Regions from separate parts of the Homo sapiens genome. Here all the other regions are linked to region 5. The links are contacts of gene promoters, found by promoter capture Hi-C in blood cells and fetal thymus (Javierre and others, 2016). All regions are on one chromosome and are shown on one strand. The core of a region is centred on a gene start or on the middle of the fragment in contact, and the rest is flanking DNA. Distances in the headings are between cores, read along the strand shown. Region 1 overlaps LOC105374690 (a long non-coding RNA gene). Region 2 overlaps LINC01813 (long intergenic non-protein coding RNA 1813). Region 3 overlaps LOC105374690 (a long non-coding RNA gene). Region 4 holds the start of MTIF2 (mitochondrial translational initiation factor 2). Region 5 holds the start of PNPT1 (polyribonucleotide nucleotidyltransferase 1). Region 6 overlaps CLHC1 (clathrin heavy chain linker domain containing 1). Region 7 overlaps MIR217HG (MIR217 host gene).

Region 1 (2,806 bases), core at 124-2,623, 460 kb before region 5:
TGTCATCAAGAGAGATCACTTATTTTCCTCTAAATTAAAACACATGTACACACATACACATACACACAAAGTCTTGTTTTCAAGATGAACAATCACACCCTCCCTCCCATACCCTTTACCTTCAACCCCACTGCCCTACGACACCTTGTTTCCAGAATAGGAGAAACACAGAATCAGGCCGATGAAGGAGTTTATTTTGTGTGAAAACCCACATATTTTTAAGAATGGGGATTAAAATGACTTCGTTTTTTAGAAGAGCTGGAAATTGGTAGAGCTTTCCCTGCTGAAGAAAAAGTAACATTTGTATGACCAAGTTACTCACTTTATCCAAATATTAACAAACACCTGCAACAGCACTAAGGACAGAAATATTGCAAAAGGGGAAAAAGGTGGGTGAAAGCTAGCCCTCTTCTTATTTTGGGGGAGGTAAGTAGGCATGTGACTCCTTTTGGTCCCCTCTTTCCCCTGCCTCTGCCAGCCTCCACGTGGGCACAGAGCCAGAAGCAAGACTGGTAAGAGCACGTGTCCAGTCTCTCCATCACCAACTCTCACTCCCATGCTCACCTGGAGAAATCATTGTGTGAGTGGTTTACTAGCACTTCTCAAATCCCTGAAGGAATCCCCAACAGGTGATGAGTTATTTGGCTGGAGTTCCAGAGATGAGAGAAAGAAAGAAAAAGAGAAAAGAAGAGGAAGAAGAATCAACATTATTGAGCTCCTAGGAAATACCAGATATGTTATATATTCTATTTAGTTCTAGCAATCAAATATGAGATATTGGATTCATCTGAGACCTATGTCTTAAATCCCAGCTCAGCCTCTTACTAGCTATGCAACCTTGTCCTCTCTGGAAGTCAGCAGTCTCATTTGCAAAGTGGGGTTGCTAGTAATAATAATAATCTTCTAGGTTTATAGAGAAGATTACATGATGTCATGAATATAACTACTTAATGTAATAAACAGCCACAATTTATCAAAGATTAGCTCCATTTTATACACAAAGTATATGATTCAGAAGTGTAGGTAACTCTCCCAATAAGGTGATGAAAACAGAACATGGCACATTTCCTCCTGGGATGGTGACTGACTAATTCAAAACATTACGCATGAATCATATGGTTTTTAAATGCATTCTCTATATATTTAAGCATTTGTTATCATTAAACTCCCTTCATAATAATGTGAAACAATGATCCTTGAAGGTGGCTTTCAGATTCAGCATGTCAGTCCCTGCTCCAGGCCATTCTAGTGGTTGGGAATGAGAACTCAGCTAGCTGTGGGCTCCCTGGAGCTCCTTTGCGCGAGACCCGGGCTCTCCTGATTCCTTCCTCCACCTCTCTTTGGGATGGGTTCCCCTGGACTTGCTTCCCCAAACTCTTGGCCTGTATGTCAGCATCCCTGTTCCTCTCTTTCAGGTGGAATCCTTACCCACAGATTTTGTTGTAGGGGCAGTAATTACCCCCAAATATTGTACTTCCTCTCCTACATTTAAACCCCTTAAAGTTACAGGATCATCTGACTAGTTCTAGGCAGTAAAATGTGGCCAGAAGTGTATCACCTTTGCACCAAGGCAATGAAAAACCCATGCTGGATTCTCCAATCTTATTTCTCCTGTTGTGGAGTGTTAAGTGCACATGACCTACATGATACAAATACTAAAATGGTAGCCTTGGTTAGTATGGGTCCCTGAGGGACACTGGAGCAGGTTGTCACCCCATACCACATTGGATACTTTGTATGTATAAGAAGTAAACTTTCATTTTGTTATAACACTGATTTGGGGGCTGTGTGTTAATATAGCAAAATCTAGCATATCCTAATTTATACAAAATTCAATCTCTGCCTATAAATTAGGACTGGGTCTCTTGCTCTTGACCACCTCTCCAAGGTCCTATATTGGCTCTCATTTTGCCTTTATGGGACCAGCATGCTCTGGAGCAAGCACAGAACTTGAAGTTCTAGTCACCTCCCAGGGGTTAATTATCTGAATCTCTCCTTCCCTTTTCTCCCCCAAATGCTACCTCAACCTCAAGGAAGTCAGAGATTGAGCCAGCTGGAGATTAACCAAGTCAACAGAATAAAGTTGGGAATTCTCATCCTGAGCAGGAAGAATCACTGGAGCAAGGGAGGTGAAAGAAGGGAAAGAGTTGACATCCTAGATATCAGGAGTAAGTGTGCTAGTTCTGAAGGGGCTGGTCAGAAGTAGAACCAGGGTCAGAAGTAGAACCAGAGTCAGAAGTAGGGTCCTAGTCAAAGTCTTGGAGCCAAGGGCTTCAAGATGGAAAGATGAGGCCAAAGGGAAAGTAAATCATGATCAAAGGTCCTGGCCAATTTCATCTATCCCTGGTTGATATGCACCATTCACCTCTCCGGGGCCAGTAGGTAGGTATGCAGACATAACTCTGGCTGGTTTCAAGAGCCAGGTGTCTACCAACATGAAAGCACCAGCCAACTCTACTGCTCTAAGAGATCTGTTAAATCCTATCATGTTTGTAAATATACTGGACAACTTGATTTAACCCATGTTCCCTAGTGTGGGGTTCCTCCTTTCTCAAAAATCCAGCAACTCACCCATCTCTCACCAGTAGAAACCAACCCAGCATGCTTAATAACTTGCCTCTTACTCTAAATGCTTACAATCTTATTCACTTGTGTAGCAACTTCCCTAGAATAAGCACAGAGCTAATTGAGGAACTTGATGACTCTTTTCTCAAGCCAAACAAGATGTTCACATTACCTTTAACATTCAACTCTGTGACCAGATTATCTGATTTGGTTATGAAAGCACGAATCACATCTTACACCC
Region 2 (3,188 bases), core at 273-2,772, 380 kb before region 5:
ATTCACCTTTTGCATTTAAGACCCTATCAGAAGCTGTACTTTGTCCTTTGACATCTATGGAGTTATAGACATTGAATCTCCTTCGATGATGAAGTGAGGTCTCATTCCAAGTGCTTAAGATAATGAAACCTGTATGAGGACAGATGATGCAACATCAGCAATTTTTGCAGTGCTATGAATTTCAGGTGGCGTCTTAATTCGAAGTAGGTTACAAGATAAAATACGTGAAAAAGATACTCCAAATTTAAAACAGGACTTTCATGCAATAAGCATAAATGCTTCCTCTCTAAGTTAAGATCTGGGGCATAGTCTGTAAATTTTAGATGCACGTTTTCCTCTTGGATACCAATTTCTGACTATAGTAAACCAATAATTCTGAGGGCTCTGATTAAACATATTGAACCTAGCAAATATTTGTACTTCCCTCTCTTAAACCCATTGAAATGATAGTAAAGATATGCAAAAGGATAGGATATGAATAGGTGAAATAATTAGGAAATTCTCTTAAAAATGCATGGCATATGGGATTACACTAACAGATAAAATAGAACAGAGAAAAATAACTATTCAGAGTACAAGAGAAGCCGCAAGAGAAGCTGCAGTGAAGGTGGAATCTGTTACTCTATGAAGAGACCCCTGGCATTGGGAACCTGAAAGAGAGCAGACACTAATAATGCATCTGGCTAAAGAATCTGTTGGCTGGCTTTTGGGTGGTGCATAATGAAGAACGTTTATGTTTCCGACTTCAATAAGAAAAATTAAGGGAAACTAGAAATTCCAGGAAAAGGAAAATGCTGTACAAAAATTCATGACGAAAATATGAAGCATTATTATAGGAAATTTATGGAGTCTAAGAAAAGAAAATCTTGACTTAGAACTTGAAATATTCTACTTTAAGTAGATCTGATTTAAGAATATAAATTATATCTCCTCTACAGCTGCACTCTGGTTCTGCAGTGAATAATATTGAACAATATCATAATATTATAAATGATGTTTATCTATTTTTGCTTCTCTGAATCAATGTATAGACAAAGCGATGAATACTTAATTAAAATTTCCATTCAGAATGTAAATGTTTTAAACCTTGGCAATATAAAAGTAGTGGTAGAAATGATGAACAGTAGGAGTTAGAGGTGGGAAGGAGAGATGGGAGAGCGTGTAGGAGTGACCGACTCCATATCATACACCATGATATGTCTGAAGTTGACAGAACAAGAAATAAAAGTCAAAAATATTATTTAAAGTATAAACAATAGAAGAACAAAAAGAAAAAATGGGAGCAGATACAGGGAAAAACGAAGCAGAGTAGTTGCTATGAGCTGAAATAGTAATCTTTTACAGCAAAGAGTTAAAAGACAAGCTTAAGTTGGTAAGATAAGAAATAGATATTAATGTTGTATGAAACAGATACTTCGAGTTATAGTGATAATCCCTGGAAGAGCTAAAGACAGAAAACATCATGGGTGGCAGCCTCTTGAGAACCAGGCTATGGATAGTGGAACTAGACACACTTTTCATCTGGCACCCTTATTTTTTATTGAAATTTTATTTCCATGAGCATGTACTTCTGAAATTCTGATTAGCATGCTGACATTATAACATCCCAAGTTTTGAACCTTTTTGATTTTCTAATCCTCAACCGATGAGGCAGTGACTGTATGTAATGATCAAAGCTTGACAGCAGGTTAAATTTCCATGGTCTTCAACTCTAAGGTGAGTGGCCCCTCTCTAGAGCTCTCCAAGTCTGACATATATTGCCTTCAGAACTGTAGAAGCAAACGTTTCTGAACTATTTCCAACTACCTACTTGCCTGTCCTTCCAAGATTACCAGTTTTCTGTGGATGTCATCTTCTCTTACAACCAAGCATCATAAATCCCTCATAGATCTCCTTCATGAGGTGTGCTGTTCAAGTCCGAGAATGCCTCACTTTTAATGATCAAAAAAGAAAAAGCTGACAGAACTGAAATCTTGACAATAGGAACTTTCAACTTTCAGCTCTAGCAGAGGGTATTAATTTCACTTCTGGAGCACTCATAATCTAAGAAACTTCTGGATCCTAATGACAAGGATGGAAACAACAGTTATTAAATCCCATAAATATCCCCTCTGCCTAATTATATAGCAAAGCCAAATGCTGAAGAACCACAGGATAAAATATAATGCTATGCATTCCACTTCCAGAGATATGAAGCTGCCATTTTTTCCTTCACTCTCTGTCTTCGTCCAGCCTCCAAGCACACCCCTAGCTTCACTTGACCTTACTTGGTTCAACATATCCCCAGGATCACTTCACTTTGCTTGCTTTAACATGTTTTCATACCATGTCACCTTACTTGCTTTAGCACATAATACTGACAGATGAATAAAATGAAAACTGCAGCTGAAATGATCAAAACTGCTTAAAGGAAAAAGATGCTGAAGTTTGCCATAGTAAGAAAAAAAAGAGCATAAATTTTGAAGTAATACAAAGCTGTCATAGGGTTTCAAACTAGGAAGTTCAAGTACCTTGGGTAAGGTCACACAGCTTGCAAATATTAGAGTCCAGCCCACAGTTGTTTTCTTAAGTAAATAATGATTAGGCATAAGGGAGATGATCATCCTCGAACCTAAAAATCTACTACAAACTTAATGAATATTGCCTGGCCTGAAAATTGATGATGCCACAAACTTTTTTCTACATATTGGCAAATTTCTACTGAGGTTTATTCTAAGCCTTGATGGGGTACTTAAGTTCAGGAAAATAAAAATATGGATTTTTTTCCTCATATAAACCACAAAGAGATTGGGACAAAAATCATTCCATCTAATTACACCAATCACTAAGAAGAGTAAATATAAGAGTGTTTTATTTCTGAAAAATTAGAATTATTTTAAAGGTAACCTATTTTGATTCCAACATTACAGAATTAACATAAAGTATATATTCCCTAAAACACATCAAACTTTTATCCAGTTGTACTCTTCTTTATATAGCTAAATGTGAAAATGTAAAATGTATTAATTATTAAGGGGTGCAGTAAAAAAAATTAAAACAATGCCTTAAATCTATACTAGCCACTTCTATAATATAAGCTATACTATTTTACCTCTAACCTTGGGATTTATATCGCTTGCTAGAATTAATCTGCAAATAGGTTACATCTTATCAGGCAATACCAACTGGTATTAAGCTGATATTAGAGC
Region 3 (2,849 bases), core at 14-2,513, 430 kb before region 5:
ATCACAATGCAGAGACATCTGCCTTTTTGTGACATTGCTTCCTTGGATCTTTTGCTTCCCCTGGAAATTGTCTCTGATGGATCCAAGAATATCATCACAGTGCTTGCATCTGCAGTTTCCTCTAAGCTCCATTGCTCTCCTACAATCAGTCCTGCCTCAGGTAACATTGACAGAGCACCCTCTTGTCAGCTTACCCTCCTGCTCCTCCAGTCCATCTCATGGTCCTGCCCTTCTCCACTCCCTGCCTGAGTTGTTGCTCACAGTCCAGAACACTGACTCGTGCAAGGTCTTCTGATAACACGCTATTAGAAAGGCCTTCAGTGATATGCATGGAAATGGAGGCAAAATGCCCCCAAGGGTTTAGATCCCCAGGAGTGAGGAATTCAAAGTACAGGTATTCACATCTCAGGGGAACCATGGGCAACACAGCAATTTTGATCTCACCTCCCCTCTCTTTCATGTTCTACCCTGCCTGTCCCTCATTGGGGGTTCAATATCTTCCAACTTTCTACACAATTCTGCAGCCCCTCTCAATATTGTTTGCTTCCCCATGAAGGGGCTCATTCTTTTCTCTTTCCCCAACAACCTGGCTCAGGACATCCACCAGCAAGAATCATGCAGAGAGCAGGCTGTGGCTCTGAGCTATAAGAGATAGAAACTCAACTCAAATGCAAAAGGAATTTGCATAAATGAGAAGTTGAAGAGGCAAACCAACTCCAGGAATAGCTGGATCCAGGGGCTTAACGGTGTCTTCAGAAATCCCTCAATTTCTCAGCTCTGCCTTTCTGGTCTCGGCTTCATTTTAAGGTACACTCTTCCTATGTGATGGCAAAGAGAACCACCAGCAGCTCTAGGTTTACCTAATCCTTACAGCTTGTGGTTCTAGTGAAACAAGCAGATCCATTTTCCCAATAATTCCAATAAAAATCTCAGGGCAGGCTCCGGTTGGCCTAACTTAATCATGTATCCTCTCTGAAACATTTGCTATACCCAGGTGGACTGTGTATTCTAATTAGTTAGCCTTGGGTCATATATCTACCCTAAAACACATGGGATGGGCTCCCTGCTGAAACAGGGGTTGTATGACTAGGAGAAGGAAGATTAAGGGACATGCTGGACAAACATAACTATGGTTATAATAACAGTCCACTACACAGATTAAAATGCCTCTGCCCAGATTAGTAGGTCTGAGAAATTTCCAGCATTAGTAACAAGAAAGTAGGAATCAGGAATTATTCTTATCATGTTTCTTACACGTGGCTATTGAACTCCCTCAAAATATAATGTGTGGAATATTCATATCAGAATTATCCCTGCTAAGGCAACATTCCTTAAAACAATGGTGTTCAAATTTGATTTTAAGCACCAGGACTTTCCTCAAATAAATTGTATGTAAAATTCCAATACATAAAATGGATAAAAGTGAGTGGTTCTATTGACAGCTGAGAGCTGGAGGTTATGAAGAGTAGAGGGGCAGACACAGACATGGGAACTCAGCCCTGTCTCATTTGCTGGCCCCTCGGGTAACATCCCTGGAACCCCTGGGGCTTCTGAAAGTTAAGTTTCCACATATGAATTTTCGGGGGACAAAGACATTTAGTCCATAACATTTATCATGTACTTATATTAGAGATTTAATAAGCAGTATAAAGTCCAAATAGTTCACTATATACTGTGTTTGTTCTCAACTATCCTTTTTAATGTTTACATAAGTTTTTGAATCAAATGAACCTCTACAGAAAAAAAAAGTATCTACAATACAGAAGTGGTCCTAACAAAACTACCTTTAAAAAGACAACCCAATACAAGAATGAGCAAAGGCTGTGAATTGACAATTCACAAAAAAAGAACTCAAAATTGCCATTGCAGTGAAGGTATGCTCAGCCTTACTAGCAGTGAAGGAAATGCCAATGAAAGTAACAGTGGAAAACTGATTGTGCCCATCATAAACATATCCATTATAAAGAATTATTTAAAGGGCTGGGCGTGGTGCTTCATGCCTATAATCCCAGCACTTTGGGAGGCCGAGGTGGGCAGATCACGAGGTCAGGAGATCAAGACCATCCTGGCTAACACAGTGAAACCTCGTCTCTACTAAAAATACAAAAATTTAGCCGGGCATGGTGGTGGGCGCCTGTAGTCCCAGCTACTCGGGAGGCTGAGGCAGGAGAATGGTGTGAACCTGGGAGGCGGAGCTTGCAGTGAGCTCAGATTGCACCACTGCACTCCAGCCTGGGCGACAGAGCGAGACGCTATCTCAAAAAAAAAAAAAAAAAAAAAAAAAAAAAAAGAACTATGTAAAATGTAAACACTTACAGAGTGACAATACTCAGTGCTGACAGGCATATGGAGAAAAAAGCACTATTAATCATTACTTGAACAATGTGAATTAAGACTTTTTAATAAAGAAATTCAGTAATGTCAAAATTTTAAATGTACATATCCTTTGATCTAGCCATCTTATATCTGGGAATAAAGTCACCAGTAGCTAAGGATATATGTACAAAAATGTTTGTTGCTATATTATTTGTAATAGTAAAACAAAGCAAACCAAAAAAATAAATAATGGAACTAATCTGAACACCTATTGGTAGGAAATGGTTGGATAAATTTTGGCATATCCATACTATGGATATTATGTAGCTATATTAAAGAATTAATTAGTTATATGGTAGTTCAGCAGAGGGGTGGAGTCCTAATTAGGGAAAGGAAGTCAGGCTGGTGGGAGCAGGAGAAAGTGAAAAGAAAAAGCAGGTAAGCTGTGAGTCTGCCTTTCTTCATGGTCCAGAACACATAGCCCTCCTGCGCAAATAACACAATCTTCCTGCGCCCAGCTATCACCAGAGCCT
Region 4 (3,121 bases), core at 154-2,653, 430 kb after region 5:
AAAACACAACAAAAACCTTATTACAATCCTGTGAACTAGCTACTGTCATTACTATAATGTAGATGAACAAACTGGGACATGGACAGTTGACAAAACATTCCCAACCACACACTAGGAATGAGCTGGGATAGGAAACCAGGCACTCTGGCTCTATTACTCCTAATGCCATACACACGAGCTGACTTAGGAGAAAACAGAAAGTACTGTTCGCACAATACTAACTGGTTCTACCGCCACTGTTCGCTTGCATTTGTTTTTTCCTTCTTGTTAGGAACACGTATCTTTGAAGGAGGTATCATTTCTCCCACAATTCTCCATTTAACGTTTCCTACAGTGTTAAGCACCACCGAGGCCTCTCATAGCCCCAGAGAAGAAGTAATTTGCTTCCTAGAAATCCTCACTGTATCCAGATTCCCTCCCAGAGGAGCCATCAGTTCTCATGGGTGGCACTTTTTCTCCAGCTGATTACACTTTTTTTCTGTACCAGTTAATTTTTCCAACTTCTAATTGAATAAAGGCAGTTTTCTTAAAAAAAAAAAAAAGAGAAAGAAAAACGGAAAGGAAGGAAGAGGAAAGGAAGGAAGAAATGAAGAAAGGAAGGAAGGAAAGAAAGGAGAGGGACAGAAAGAAAAAAAGGAAAGAGAGAAAGAAAGGAAAGGAAAGTAAGAAATGGAAGGGACCTGCAGAAACGATTCACCACGCGCGGCTGACCCTGGGAGGAGCCACAGGTTGAACCAGCGCCTCCCAGGCTGGACGCCCGCCGCGGACACCGCAGACAGTCCCACCCCCAGCGGCGACAGCAACTCTCTGAATTCCGGAAAGAACCTTTTCCAGCGGGACCGGAAGCCCGGCGGGGACCGTAGCGGGGACGGACTGACCTACCGACCATTCTTCCGGGTCCAGAAGGTGATCTCCGCCCGTGCTCAGAATCCAGGGGCCCGGGGCTGTAGGTAGGAGTTAAGTGGGTAGGATCCCTTAACCAGGGTTGTCCGGTGCAGGTGGTGTGTGTTGTTTCGCCTAACGTGTCAGTGGCACAAATCACGCGAACTTCATAAACATTGTGCGTTCGGAAGCCTTTCCAAGATGCATTTAATCCCTGCGTGAGCCCACGTTAGGCATTCACGAAGGCATGTGCACTGTTCTCTCGGAAGCGGCTGGCCGGCTTCCCCTCCTCGCGCGCGGCTGTGGGTGCAGGTCCTCACTTCCCAGCCTCCCATGGGCCCAAGGCCTTCTGGGCTCCAATTTGAGGCGAGCCACCCCAGATCCGTAATTTTTCTGCAGTGATTTATTTTTACCTTTCTGGTAAGTTCCAAAGCTTCCAGCTCACATTCAGACGTTTTCCCTAACGCAACTACGTATTTGCAACATACTTTTTTCAGATTCCTTGACAAGGATATCCTAGCGGCGAAACAACACCGTACTGGGAGTCAGAACGTCTGGGTTCTAGTCTTGACTGCCATTAACTAGCGGTATGACATTGGAGAAGCTTTTTTGACCCTTCTGGATTTCCGTTTCCTTTTCTGTAAAATGAGGAGCTTGGAGTAAGTGACAAGTTTCCTTCCAGTTTTGACATTTGGGTTATTGCCTCCAATGTGTCTTTCCAGTTCCTGCCTCAATTACATATCTGTGCTTTGGTTAATATCTCGTAGGGTCCTTCCTCCCACTCCATTAATCTGTGCTCTTCTCAAATCTGGTTTCATACTGATTTAAAAATTATTTTCTCAAGGAATCCTGTGTTACCTGAGCACTCTACTTCTTGGTCCAGGGGCACAAACGTAAATAAGATATTTTCCATGTGCCATTCTTAGAAGTATTTAATGTGTGTAAATACTATTGAATGAATTTCCAAATCTTCTTTTTTTTTTCTTTAGACAGAGTCTCACTGTCGCCCAGGCTGGAGTGCAGTGGCCTGATCTCGGCTCACTGCAGTCTCTGCCTCCTGGGTTCAAGCGATTCTCCTGCCTCAGCCTCCCAAGTCGCTGGGATTACAGGCGCCCGCCACCGTACCCGGCTAATTTTTGTACTTTTAGTAGAGAGGGGGTTTCACCATGTTGGCCAGGCTGGTCTCGAACTCCTGACCTCAGGTGATCCGCCCGCCTCGACCTCCCAAAGTGCTAGGATTACAGGCATGAGCCATCACGCCCAGCCTGAATTTCTAAATCTTAATGTGTTTATTTCGTTGGCATTAAGTTAGATTTTTCCTTGATCTTTACTCGAATAAGCCTTTTAAGGTAAAATGCTTGCTCGATTACACACACATACACAACCTCATAATTGTCCGAAGGTAAACAAGTTAATGACTTGTGAATATTTTTAACTTATAAGCAATGAATCCTCAAAGCTTATAAGCGAGTATCAAGACATGTGATATGGTTTTAAAATAGCTGATGATAAAGTATATACATCATCTCATTTTCTCCTCTTAGTCTTGTAATAGGAAGGACAGATATTCAAACACTTATTTATTTATTTATTTTTAACAGAGATCCGGAAAATGAGGCCCATAGGAAACAAGTGACTTGCTGAGTCCAGATAACACTGACTGTCAGAGTGAGTGTCCACCTAAGGTTCCTTTGTTGCCTAATAAGATACTTTCTTTGCTATACTGTACTTGTTTCTGTTATCATTTCTTTTCTTTCTTTTAAAAAATATTCAGTATAGGCCAGGCGCGGTGGCTCACGCCTGTAATCCCAGCACTTTGGGAGGCCAAGGCGGATAGATCACCTGAGGTCAGGAGTTCAAGACCAGCCTGGCCAACACGGTGAAACCCCGTCTCTACTAAAAATACAAAATAATTAGCCGGGTGTGCTGGCAGGCACCTGTAATCCCAGCGACTTGGGAGGCTGAGGCAGGAGAATCCCCTGAACCCAGCAGGTGGAGGTTGTAGTGAGCCAAGATCACGCCATTGCACTCCAGCCTGAGCGATGAGCAAAACTCCATCTCAAAAAAAAAAATTCAGTATATTCTATTTACCATGTCAGAACCATACATTTACTATGTCAGAACCATAAAATACACTTTGGGAAGATTGGTTGAAATGTAACATTTAGGCTAGGCGTGGTGGCTCACGCCTGTAATCCCAGCACTTTGGGAGGCTGAGACAGGTGGATCACCTGAGGTC
Region 5 (2,898 bases), core at 173-2,672:
GTCTGGAGTGCAGTGGCGCGATCTCGGCTCACTGCAACCTCCGCCTCCTGGATTCAAGCGATTCTCATGCCTCAGCCTCTGGAGTAGCTGGGATTACAGGCACGCGCCACCACACCGAGCTAATTTTTGTATTTTTAGTAGAGACGCGGTTTCAGCATGTTGGCCAGGATGCCCTGGGTCTCTTGACCTCGTGATCCACCCGCCTCTGCCTCCCAGCGTGCTGGGATTACAGGCATGAGCCACTGCGCCCGGACTTTTTTTTTTTTTTTTTTTTTTTTTTTTTTTGAGACCGAGTTTCACTCTTGTTGCAATGACGCGATCTCGGCTCACTGCAACCTCCGCCTCCCGGGTTCAAGCGATTCCCCTGCCTCAGCCTCCCGAGTAGCTGGGATTACAGGCATAAGCCACCATGCCCGGCTAGTTTTGTATTTTTAGTAGAGACGGGGTTTCTCTGTGTTGGTCAGGCTGGTCTCGAACTCAGGTGATCCGCCCGCCTCGGCCTCCCAAAGTGCTGGGATTACAGGCGTGAGCCACAGCGTCCAGCCAACGTTTTTAATTCTTAAAACTGTGTTTGAATGAGTGTTGGGTTTTTGTTGTTTGGTTTTCTTTGGGGTAAGGCGGTTATCACCTTACACAAAAAATTTACATCATAATATGAAAATGCCCATTGGTTCATTCAAGGAAAAACATAAAGAATTTCTAACAGAATGGATTAATGGGGTGGAAGAAATTTATCCATTCTCTAAAAATTTTTCAAATCCCAAAAACTTTTTTTTTTCATTTTACAAAATATTTACTTCAAACAGTAGCTGGCATTTTGCATTTAAGAGTTCGACCAAAAGGGACAGAAATATAAATTGCTAATTATTAGCAATGGAAATGAAAATGAATCAGAAGTGACAATAAAGATTTCTAAAATTACAAGTCGATGAAAAATGAATTTACTGTAAATTGGTTAACACAAATCGCTGTAGTAACATATCTGCTATGTGAAATTTTTAAAATAAAAACCAGGGCGGAGAAGGGGAGAAGGAGATCTCTTTCCAAGGCCCACCACCCAAATTCTAATTCTTAGTTCACAGATCCAAATAATAATAATGTGTTGTTCTATGACTTCTAGTATTAAAAGTAAATATAAATTTACTCTGCATATTAAACATTTACATTATTCTAGGACTTCTCCTTTAAATTACGATAGTACACACACAAAAACCTTATTTATCTAATTGCCTTTCGTTGGCACATAAAGACAAAGATCGTTTGCAACATAATCGCGTTCTGATAGGTTTGACCCTCTCTAGTCTTCGTAGAAGGTGGCCAAGGTTTCCGTTACCCCGGCGTCCCTCGGGCACCGCGGAAACGAAACTCCATCAGGCTCCGCCCCACGGTCTGCGGAGTGAGCCAATCAGGGCACAGCCTGCGTTGACCGCGTGCCGGGTGTCATGGCGGCCTGCAGGTACTGCTGCTCGTGCCTCCGGCTCCGGCCCCTGAGCGATGGTCCTTTCCTTCTGCCACGGCGGGATCGGGCACTCACCCAGTTGCAAGTGCGAGCACTATGGAGTAGCGCAGGGTCTCGAGCTGTGGCCGTGGACTTAGGCAACAGGTAAGGAGTGACGTGCGTTCACTGTATTGTCATAAGGTGTCTTGTCCAGCCAGCTTGAGCGTATTCATCTCCCAGGGTAGAAACCCGGTATCCCAGCTCTATTTAATCTCTCCTTACCCTAAACCTAAATTCCAAATTTCCCTTTCCGGGTTTGGAATGTGTCTCCTCGGACCCTCCTTCCCGCGCTATGTCGTTCTCTCTGTTGGTGTGTGCCGGGCTTCTTTGCTCCATCCGACTCTGTCCGTCCACCTGACTTCCGATCTCTTTACTTTCCGGGACCACTGGGCTCTTAAGTGGGAAACATTCCACCTAGGAATAACGAGTTGACGTGGGTGAGACGAGGCCCCCCGGGATGCTGGCCCGGACCCTGGAAGCTGGGGCTCTGATGCCCCTCGAGCTGGGACACAGACCTCAGCAGAGGCTCCGGGTGGCTAGTGCACCACGGGTCCCCCACGTCCCACTCCTCGGGCTCCTTCAGCCTCCTCTTCACCAGGAGCCTACCTTGTAGAAGTTGAACACCAGGTCCAGTTCACAGACATTGTGGAAATATTCGTTTAAGACCTGGGAGAGGAAGGCAGAGATGGTAAGAGATGGACAGGGAGAGAGCCACACACGCACAGAGATGGGAACAAGGTCATCAGAAAGAGACAGCAAAAAAAAGAGACCAAGAGGGAGGCAGGGGAGAGAGAGAGACAGTGACAGGGAGAGAGGCAAGGAGACACACAGAGAGAAACAAAAGCAAAGATCGATGCAAAGAGATGGCAAAAGGTCAGGCGCTCACACCTGTAATCCCAGCACTTTGGGAGGCTAAGACGGAAGGATGACTTGAAGTTAGGAGTACAAGATATCATGTCATCCAATCTAATTGATTGCCTAAAGTGTGACCACTATGACCCTGGGTTAGGAGGAAAAGGAAAAGTCAGTTTTTTGAACGCCAGTTATATGATCCTCGCAATCTTTTTAAACCTGTCGTAAAGGTACTATTACCCTCATTTTATAGTTAAGACTACAGAGGCTCAAAAAAGGTTAGATAACTTTCTAAGAGTCTATAAAAAAGTTAGTATTATGGGACTAGGTGGTTTTTGAATTTCTGTTTTTTGCTTACAAAGCCCATACTTTTTTTTAGGGGACCGCTTTTTAAAAAAAAAGTTTGCTTTAATCGTTCTTAGAATAAATGGAATTGCTAATGCAAACTTCATATATCTAAATTTTTTACGTGTACTTTGAAAAAATTTGGACCCCAGTTCATACAAAAAGCAAAAAAATCATTTTGAATCCAGGTCTCGCACTCTAAC
Region 6 (2,989 bases), core at 68-2,567, 470 kb after region 5:
CATATGGTAGAGGAGGGATGATGGGGAAAGAGAACATTTTGTTTCCTGATCTTGTCACGCTTACAGCCTAACAGATGAGACAGAATATAAACAGGAAGTCTCTAAGGCAGTGTGGTGGAAGGATAATACCATGATGGAGGAAGTGCACAGTATTATGGGAGAACATAGCAGTGGCATCTGACCAATTTTAAGGGAATCCAGGACAGCTTTCCTGAAGCTGAAGAAAGAGTAAAAGCCAGGTGAATCAAAGTGATAGTATGTATGTGTTTTGGGGGTTGGGGGTAATATAGGAGGATGGTCTGCAGGGAGGGGGAGAGAATTATGTAAGATCCTAAGGTAAGAGAGGAAGTTCATGGGTGTGGGAATGGGGATATGGGGCAAAGGACAGGGACATGAAGAGAGTAAATTTGGTCAAAGAAAAAGAGTCATTAGTTTCTGAAGGGCACTAATAGGCCAAGTAAAGGAACTTGGATTTTATCCTAAGGGTAATACGGTAGGAAGCCACTGGTGTCCAAATGTCACTACCCCCTCTCTAATGATAACACCCGTTTCTTCCTCTTTTGACTTTTATCTTTTACTTTTTTTTTTTTTTTGAGATGGAGTCTTGCTCTATTGCCCAGGCTGGAGTGCAGTGGCTCAATCTCGGCTCACTGCAACCTCCACCTCCTGGGTTCAAGTGATTCTCCTGCCTCAGCCTCCTGAGTAGCTGGGATTATAGGCGTGTGCCACCACTCCCAGCTAATTTTTGTATTTTTAGTAGAGATGTGGTTTCACCATGTTGGTCAGACTGGTCTTGAACTCCTGATCTCGTGATCTGCCTGCCTCGGCCTCCCAAAGTGCTGGGATTATAGGCGTGAGCCACCGCGCCTGGTTATCTTTTACTATTTGAAATTATTTATTTATAGTTTGTCTCCCCTACTAGATCATAAGCTTCAAGGAGCCAGGGACCTTATCTTACTTATTGCCGAATTCCTAGCTGTGAAATGGTGCCTGGTGCTTTGTTGACACTCAATAAATACTGACTGAATGAATGAATAAACAAATGTATTTCTCATTTAGGAAAACTTGATTAATTAATGAGTTATTCCCTTGCTGGAACTACTTTATATTAATTCATAAATTGACTTTTTGCTATCCAGTTCATCAACATGAAGATAATTTTGGCCTTTTAATCTTCAGAATTATTTTGGTGTCTCCTCTTCTGTATATGGCTATGGGCAGTATTTACAGGCTGTATATGTTATTCACATAATCAGGTATCAGTTATATTGCCAGAACATGATACAATTGATTGAGACACTTACTTATCATGGCATTGTTTATATTAGTGAAAATAGCAGCCAGGTGCAGTGGCTCATGCCTGTAATCCCAGCACTTTGGGAGGCCAAAGCAGGCTGATCACTTGAGGCCAGGAGTTCAAGATCAGCCTGGCCAACAGGGTGAAACCCCATCTCTACTAAAATTACAAAAAATTACCCAGACATGGTGCCCTGCACCTCTAGTTTCAGCTACTCGGGAGGCTAAGGCAGGAGAATCACTTGAATTCAGAAAGTGAAGGTTGCAGTGAGCTGAGATCGTGCCACTGCACTCCAGCCTGGGCGACAGAGCAAGACTGTCTCAAAACAAAACAAAAATAGTGAAAATATCTGACAATGGGGGAATAAATTAATGGAACATCATACTATGAAATACTGTGTAAGCTTTAGAAGTCATGTTTTAAAAAACGATTTAACAACATGAAAAAGTGCTTTTAATATTAAGTGAAAAAAATGGGATGCACAACTGAATATAGAGTTTAATTTCAAGTTTTGTAATGTTTGGAAGGAAATATTCCAAAATATTAAATAGATATTTATTTCATTAATTTTGTCTGGTTTATATTTTCCGAATTTTATACCAGGAGTATGCTTCTGTAATTAGGGAAAAAGTTACGATGTTGCCTTGCCAGCCATTATTAAGCAAGCCAAGAGTTCTGTTTGAAGTTAATGTGACTAAATCTTAGGCACCAACTTCTGTATCCAACTTCAGTTGGACAATTTTTTTTTTTTCAGTAAAAACTCTTTCTCTTTTTTTTTTTTTGAAATGGAGTCTCGCTCAGTTGCCCAGGCTGGAGTGCAGTGGTGCGATCTTGGCTCACTGCAACCTCCGCCTCCCGGGTTCACGCCACTCTCCTGCCTCAGCCTCCTGAGTAGCTGGGACTACAGGCGCCCGCCACCACACCCGGCTAATTTTTTTGTACTTTTAGTAGAGACGGGGTTTTACCATGTTAGCCAGATGGTCTCGATCTCCTGACCTCGTGAACCGCCCGCCTCGGCCTCCCAAAATGCTGGGACTACAGGCGTGAGCTACCGCTCCCGGCCTTTCAGTAAAAATTCTTTATTCATTCCTTCATCACGTGACAGTTGGCCTTGAGTACTTACAAAGACAGCAGTTCCTGCCTCTCAGAAATCTAAGCAGACATTCCAGAGCTCACAGATCAGTGCCCCACCAACTGCTACCTGGAAGCTTCAGGGAGATGGGGAGCCTGGAGGAGGGGATGCTGCAGGAACCCCCTGGCACGCAGTGGGGCTGGGCTTCGAAGGCATCCAGGACTGAATTCGAGGTGGCAGGGGGCAAGCAGGCAGGCAGCGTGACGGTCATGAGGTGCGGGGTGAGGGCAGGAAGCCCACAGCATTCCTGACTTGGGGTCAGGGGAGACAGATTGGAGGGGCCCGAGATGAAGCCAGAGCTTACAGAGAGGCTGTAAGCCAGCACTCAGCTTCCCGGGAGACCCCAACCACTGCCGGGTCCAGAGTGCCCTGGGAGAATGTCAGGTACCCAGATGTTTCAGTGGAAGATTCCTTTTTCAAACATTAGCTGGTTCTTTGGATTTTTAATTATAAACATAGTACATGATCAAGGTTAAACCATTTTCCAAGCATCACATAAGGATGGGAAGTAATTCTATCCCGCTCTAGACCTTCCAGATTGGCTCCAGAAGGCAGCTGCT
Region 7 (2,997 bases), core at 308-2,807, 320 kb before region 5:
ACACAAGGTCTCTCAAATCCCTGCAAAATCTGCACACATGGAACATTCAGCAAAATGTAAAAAAAAAGTACACACTCGTATGAATAATTAATTTAATAATACTTCTTCACAGTGTCTTCTTGACAATGTAATTAACTACTAAACGATAAACCATTACTTGCTATAATACAGTATATCTAGTACATACATATAGTATTATTCTCATGAAGCAATATTTTATAACTATTTTCAGCATTTTGGAGAATTGGGAAAAAGAAACATTACTATTTCAAGTAGAATAACTAAACATTAAAATTAGGAATAATTCTGCTAAAAAGATCTCAGCTTTTTTCAGCATTTTAATTCTAAGCTACTTTTTTTAATTTGTGTTTATGGAAATGTTCTCTACATTTTTTAAGGAACTGTGTGCTAAAAATGGTATTCCAAATTAATGATTTTTAAATTGTATCTAAATTTTTTCATTAAATATATATAACTTTTAAATGCAAACAAAATGAATTTGTACTTTAAAAAATATGTAGCATTTTGGTAGTGGAAAGGAATGCCTTTGTGAGCTCCTTCATGTTTCAATTGATATACTGTCTTCTACACAAGTGCCGCATGAGCTATACCACACTTGATTTAATTGATTTTATTATTATCAGGCCTGTTAATGTTTTAGAATTGCTTATGCCAGGGAGAAAGGGAAAGAGTGTTTGTTCTGAATGAGATTTATTTTATAAAGCACAAGTTCAACTCATCAAAATCTCTATTTTTTAGAAAGAAATTAATTTGTTGTTCTTGCACATGTTTAATTAAACTACATTAAGAAAAAAAAAGGCCTTAGAGTTGAGAACTTTCCAAACCATTTATTTTAGCTACAGAATTGGCAAAAACATACAAGATGATGTGCAATTTCCTTATTTTGGAGGATTAGTTGTTTGGAGTGTGGTTACGGAGTTTCTCAACCCACACTTTTTCAACGTTGATAACCATTAAGAAAAGACATAGAATACGCAATTCTGTTCACTCAAATTTGGTAGATTCTGGGAGTGAGTTTCTTACCCCAACATTAGTGTTACAATGCACACGAGTTTAACTGTAGTTAGCTACTTTCATTCAGGGCTCTTGTTAGCATCTTATAGTAAAGGCGTGGATGAGGAGGGGGGAAAATAAAGCTTTGACAGATGGTACTCAGCGTTTGACTCCTGCTGAGCTCAGCAGGACCTGTGGTTTCCAAGGTTAGGGCTGTCAAAATGGCTCTGTCTATCAAGTGAATAACAAAGTGTAGACTGCCTGTCTGTTTCCTATACAAAACTTAGATTTCATTTGCCATTATTGTCGGCCTTTCTGCTGATTTAATAACTTCTAAGGAGAAGAACTAGGGGTTCTGATGCAGCCTCACTATTTAAGAAACTACTTGGAAAGGGAATTCTCAAGGGCTGAAAGAGGTAGGCCGCGATCTGATCTCTTTCTCTTTGGTTTCTCTCTAAGGCTTCAAGACTTAAAAAGGATTCAAAAGACACCAAAGGTTCACTTTTGGCTAAAAGCTAAATGTGAACCTTTCAAAATGAACTCATTGCTGTCTTCCTCTCAAAAGGGTAAAATTTTTTTTATTAAGAATCCTTGGGATAGTGGATAATTATTCAACTAGAAATATTGAGAATGAAAATGGAACTGTTTCTGTTATGAAATACATGGATCTGTTTAGATGTGTTTGTCAGGGCCTGTTTTTCACCTTTCATAGCTCTTAATATTAAAAACTCTCCCATTTTTTTTTACCTATTTCTAAAGCCTTCAGATGGTCAGATAAAGTACCTGATGCTGAAAAACAGGAAATTGAATCATGTCTCCAAAATGTGCCTTTTGTCATGCACTGTTACAGCTATATTTCTTGGTAAGTCTGATGTTCTCCTGTATGCATATTTTGTGATTACAAGATTGTTATTGACCTCTTGGGATTTTAATAAAAAGCTTGTGGATTCATAAACCCAGGCTTTCTATTAAGATATGCTGAAATTAGGATTGGGGTTTTGCTTCTGAATAAACTAATTATATTTCAATATTTATATTAAATATTAATACACTTAAATTTAATACACTTAAAGTGAAACACCTGATTGTTATTTCAAAAATGTGGCATTTAAAAAATGACAGACTTAGACCTTTGTCCTGTCCCAAAACTAAGAATTTTAGTTGTCATTTTTGAGAAGCTGATAAAGGGAAATCTCGTCTCTTTTCAATGCTGGCTTGTGCAAACATTTCCACTAGTGTAGTGATTATTCCCAACCAGCATATCTGAAAAGATGACATTCTCCCTACAATATAGTTGAAGAAATTTCTTCTGCAAATATTTAGTTTATATAAATCCCATAATCATAAAGGGAACGTTATTTGGAAGAATGGCGATTTATTGTGATTTTTAGTACAGTTCAGTATTTTGAACATTAAACTTAAAAAAAATTTAGGCTTTAAAATATTTACTTTCTTTTAAAACTTATTTTAAAAACCCTAACCCAGTGTTTTTTCTGAGACACAGGGCCTATACTACATATTAGATATTCAGTAAATGTTATTGAATTGAAATAAAAAGGATAATGACTATTGAGTAAAAGATGAAAGGAATTCTTGAATTGAAATAAAAGGGAGACAACTTTTACGTCAGATTATTGTAAGAAATTATCAAATGCCAATTTAGCATAAATCCTTTTCCATTTGTGCTTGGGTTTTATCCTGGAAATGTTTGATGCTTTTAATCATCTCTGTAGATAATAATGATAATTAAACAGAAATTTCAAAAAAAATTCTAAACTAAAAAGCAGTTTTCTTCTCCCATTTTATCTCTCTGCCTTTAGCTTGCTTTGTTCAATAGGGCAGTTTCTAAGCTTCTTTCTAACAGCCTATACTATCACTACACCATCCCTGCCCCCAAAGGAGGTTTTGTTAATGGTAAACTTGCTGAATCAAATTTGCTTTTTATGTGTTTGCATTTTTTGAAGAGTCTCTGAGGGGTTTCTT

Evidence for each region. The method cuts DNA at HindIII sites, captures the fragments that hold promoters and counts their contacts. A CHiCAGO score of 5 or more calls a contact.
Region 1: a fragment that was not itself captured here is called in contact with the fragment with the promoter of PNPT1 in region 5 in 1 of 17 cell types (endothelial precursors); the score reaches 8.1 in endothelial precursors.
Region 2: a fragment that was not itself captured here is called in contact with the fragment with the promoter of PNPT1 in region 5 in 1 of 17 cell types (endothelial precursors); the score reaches 5.7 in endothelial precursors.
Region 3: a fragment that was not itself captured here is called in contact with the fragment with the promoter of PNPT1 in region 5 in 1 of 17 cell types (endothelial precursors); the score reaches 9.5 in endothelial precursors.
Region 4: a contact is called between a fragment that was not itself captured here and the fragment with the promoter of PNPT1 in region 5, in 3 of 17 cell types (activated CD4 T cells, naive CD8 T cells and fetal thymus). The highest score is 6.8, in activated CD4 T cells.
Region 6: a fragment that was not itself captured here is called in contact with the fragment with the promoter of PNPT1 in region 5 in 1 of 17 cell types (activated CD4 T cells); the score reaches 5.0 in activated CD4 T cells.
Region 7: a contact is called between a fragment that was not itself captured here and the fragment with the promoter of PNPT1 in region 5, in 1 of 17 cell types (endothelial precursors). The highest score is 6.0, in endothelial precursors.

What each region holds. Positions count from the first base shown.
Region 1 is chr2:56,153,100-56,155,905 of GRCh38, reverse strand. It overlaps LOC105374690 (a long non-coding RNA gene), which reads right to left. Exons shown (of 9, transcript XR_940109.3): 7 at 565-645. Among named protein-coding and RNA genes, the nearest start is that of CCDC85A, 29 kb to the left of the region's middle. The HindIII fragment of the contact is 3,113 bases long and covers 1-2,806 here.
Region 2 is chr2:56,074,517-56,077,704 of GRCh38, reverse strand. It overlaps LINC01813 (long intergenic non-protein coding RNA 1813), which reads left to right. Exons shown (of 2, transcript NR_135590.1): 2 at 1-3,051. The region is part of intron 3 of LOC105374690 (a long non-coding RNA gene); the gene reads right to left. Among named protein-coding and RNA genes, the nearest start is that of LINC01813, 14 kb to the left of the region's middle. The HindIII fragment of the contact is 313 bases long and covers 1,366-1,678 here.
Region 3 is chr2:56,124,330-56,127,178 of GRCh38, reverse strand. All of the region lies in intron 5 of LOC105374690 (a long non-coding RNA gene), which reads right to left. Among named protein-coding and RNA genes, the nearest start is that of LINC01813, 35 kb to the right of the region's middle. The HindIII fragment of the contact is 4,725 bases long and covers 1-2,849 here.
Region 4 is chr2:55,266,998-55,270,118 of GRCh38, reverse strand. MTIF2 (mitochondrial translational initiation factor 2) reads left to right here and starts at 888. Exons shown (of 16, transcript NM_002453.3): 1 at 888-950; 2 at 1,380-1,541; 3 at 2,484-2,550. RefSeq lists enhancers at 27-850, 796-945. The HindIII fragment of the contact is 171 bases long and covers 1,318-1,488 here.
Region 5 is chr2:55,692,368-55,695,265 of GRCh38, reverse strand. It overlaps PNPT1 (polyribonucleotide nucleotidyltransferase 1), which reads left to right and starts at 1,422. Exons shown (of 28, transcript NM_033109.5): 1 at 1,422-1,603. The coding sequence starts at 1,443. RefSeq lists enhancers at 1,233-1,382, 1,413-1,472, 1,483-1,602 and a silencer at 2,173-2,232. The HindIII fragment of the contact is 6,564 bases long and covers 1-2,898 here.
Region 6 is chr2:55,225,282-55,228,270 of GRCh38, reverse strand. It overlaps CLHC1 (clathrin heavy chain linker domain containing 1), which reads left to right. Exons shown (of 13, transcript NM_152385.4): 2 at 67-239. Among named protein-coding and RNA genes, the nearest start is that of CLHC1, 5.5 kb to the left of the region's middle. The HindIII fragment of the contact is 770 bases long and covers 933-1,702 here.
Region 7 is chr2:56,012,488-56,015,484 of GRCh38, reverse strand. MIR217HG (MIR217 host gene) reads left to right here. Exons shown (of 3, transcript NR_126406.1): 2 at 1,774-1,876. All of the region lies in intron 3 of LOC105374690 (a long non-coding RNA gene), which reads right to left. Among named protein-coding and RNA genes, the nearest start is that of MIR216B, 13 kb to the right of the region's middle. The HindIII fragment of the contact is 796 bases long and covers 1,160-1,955 here.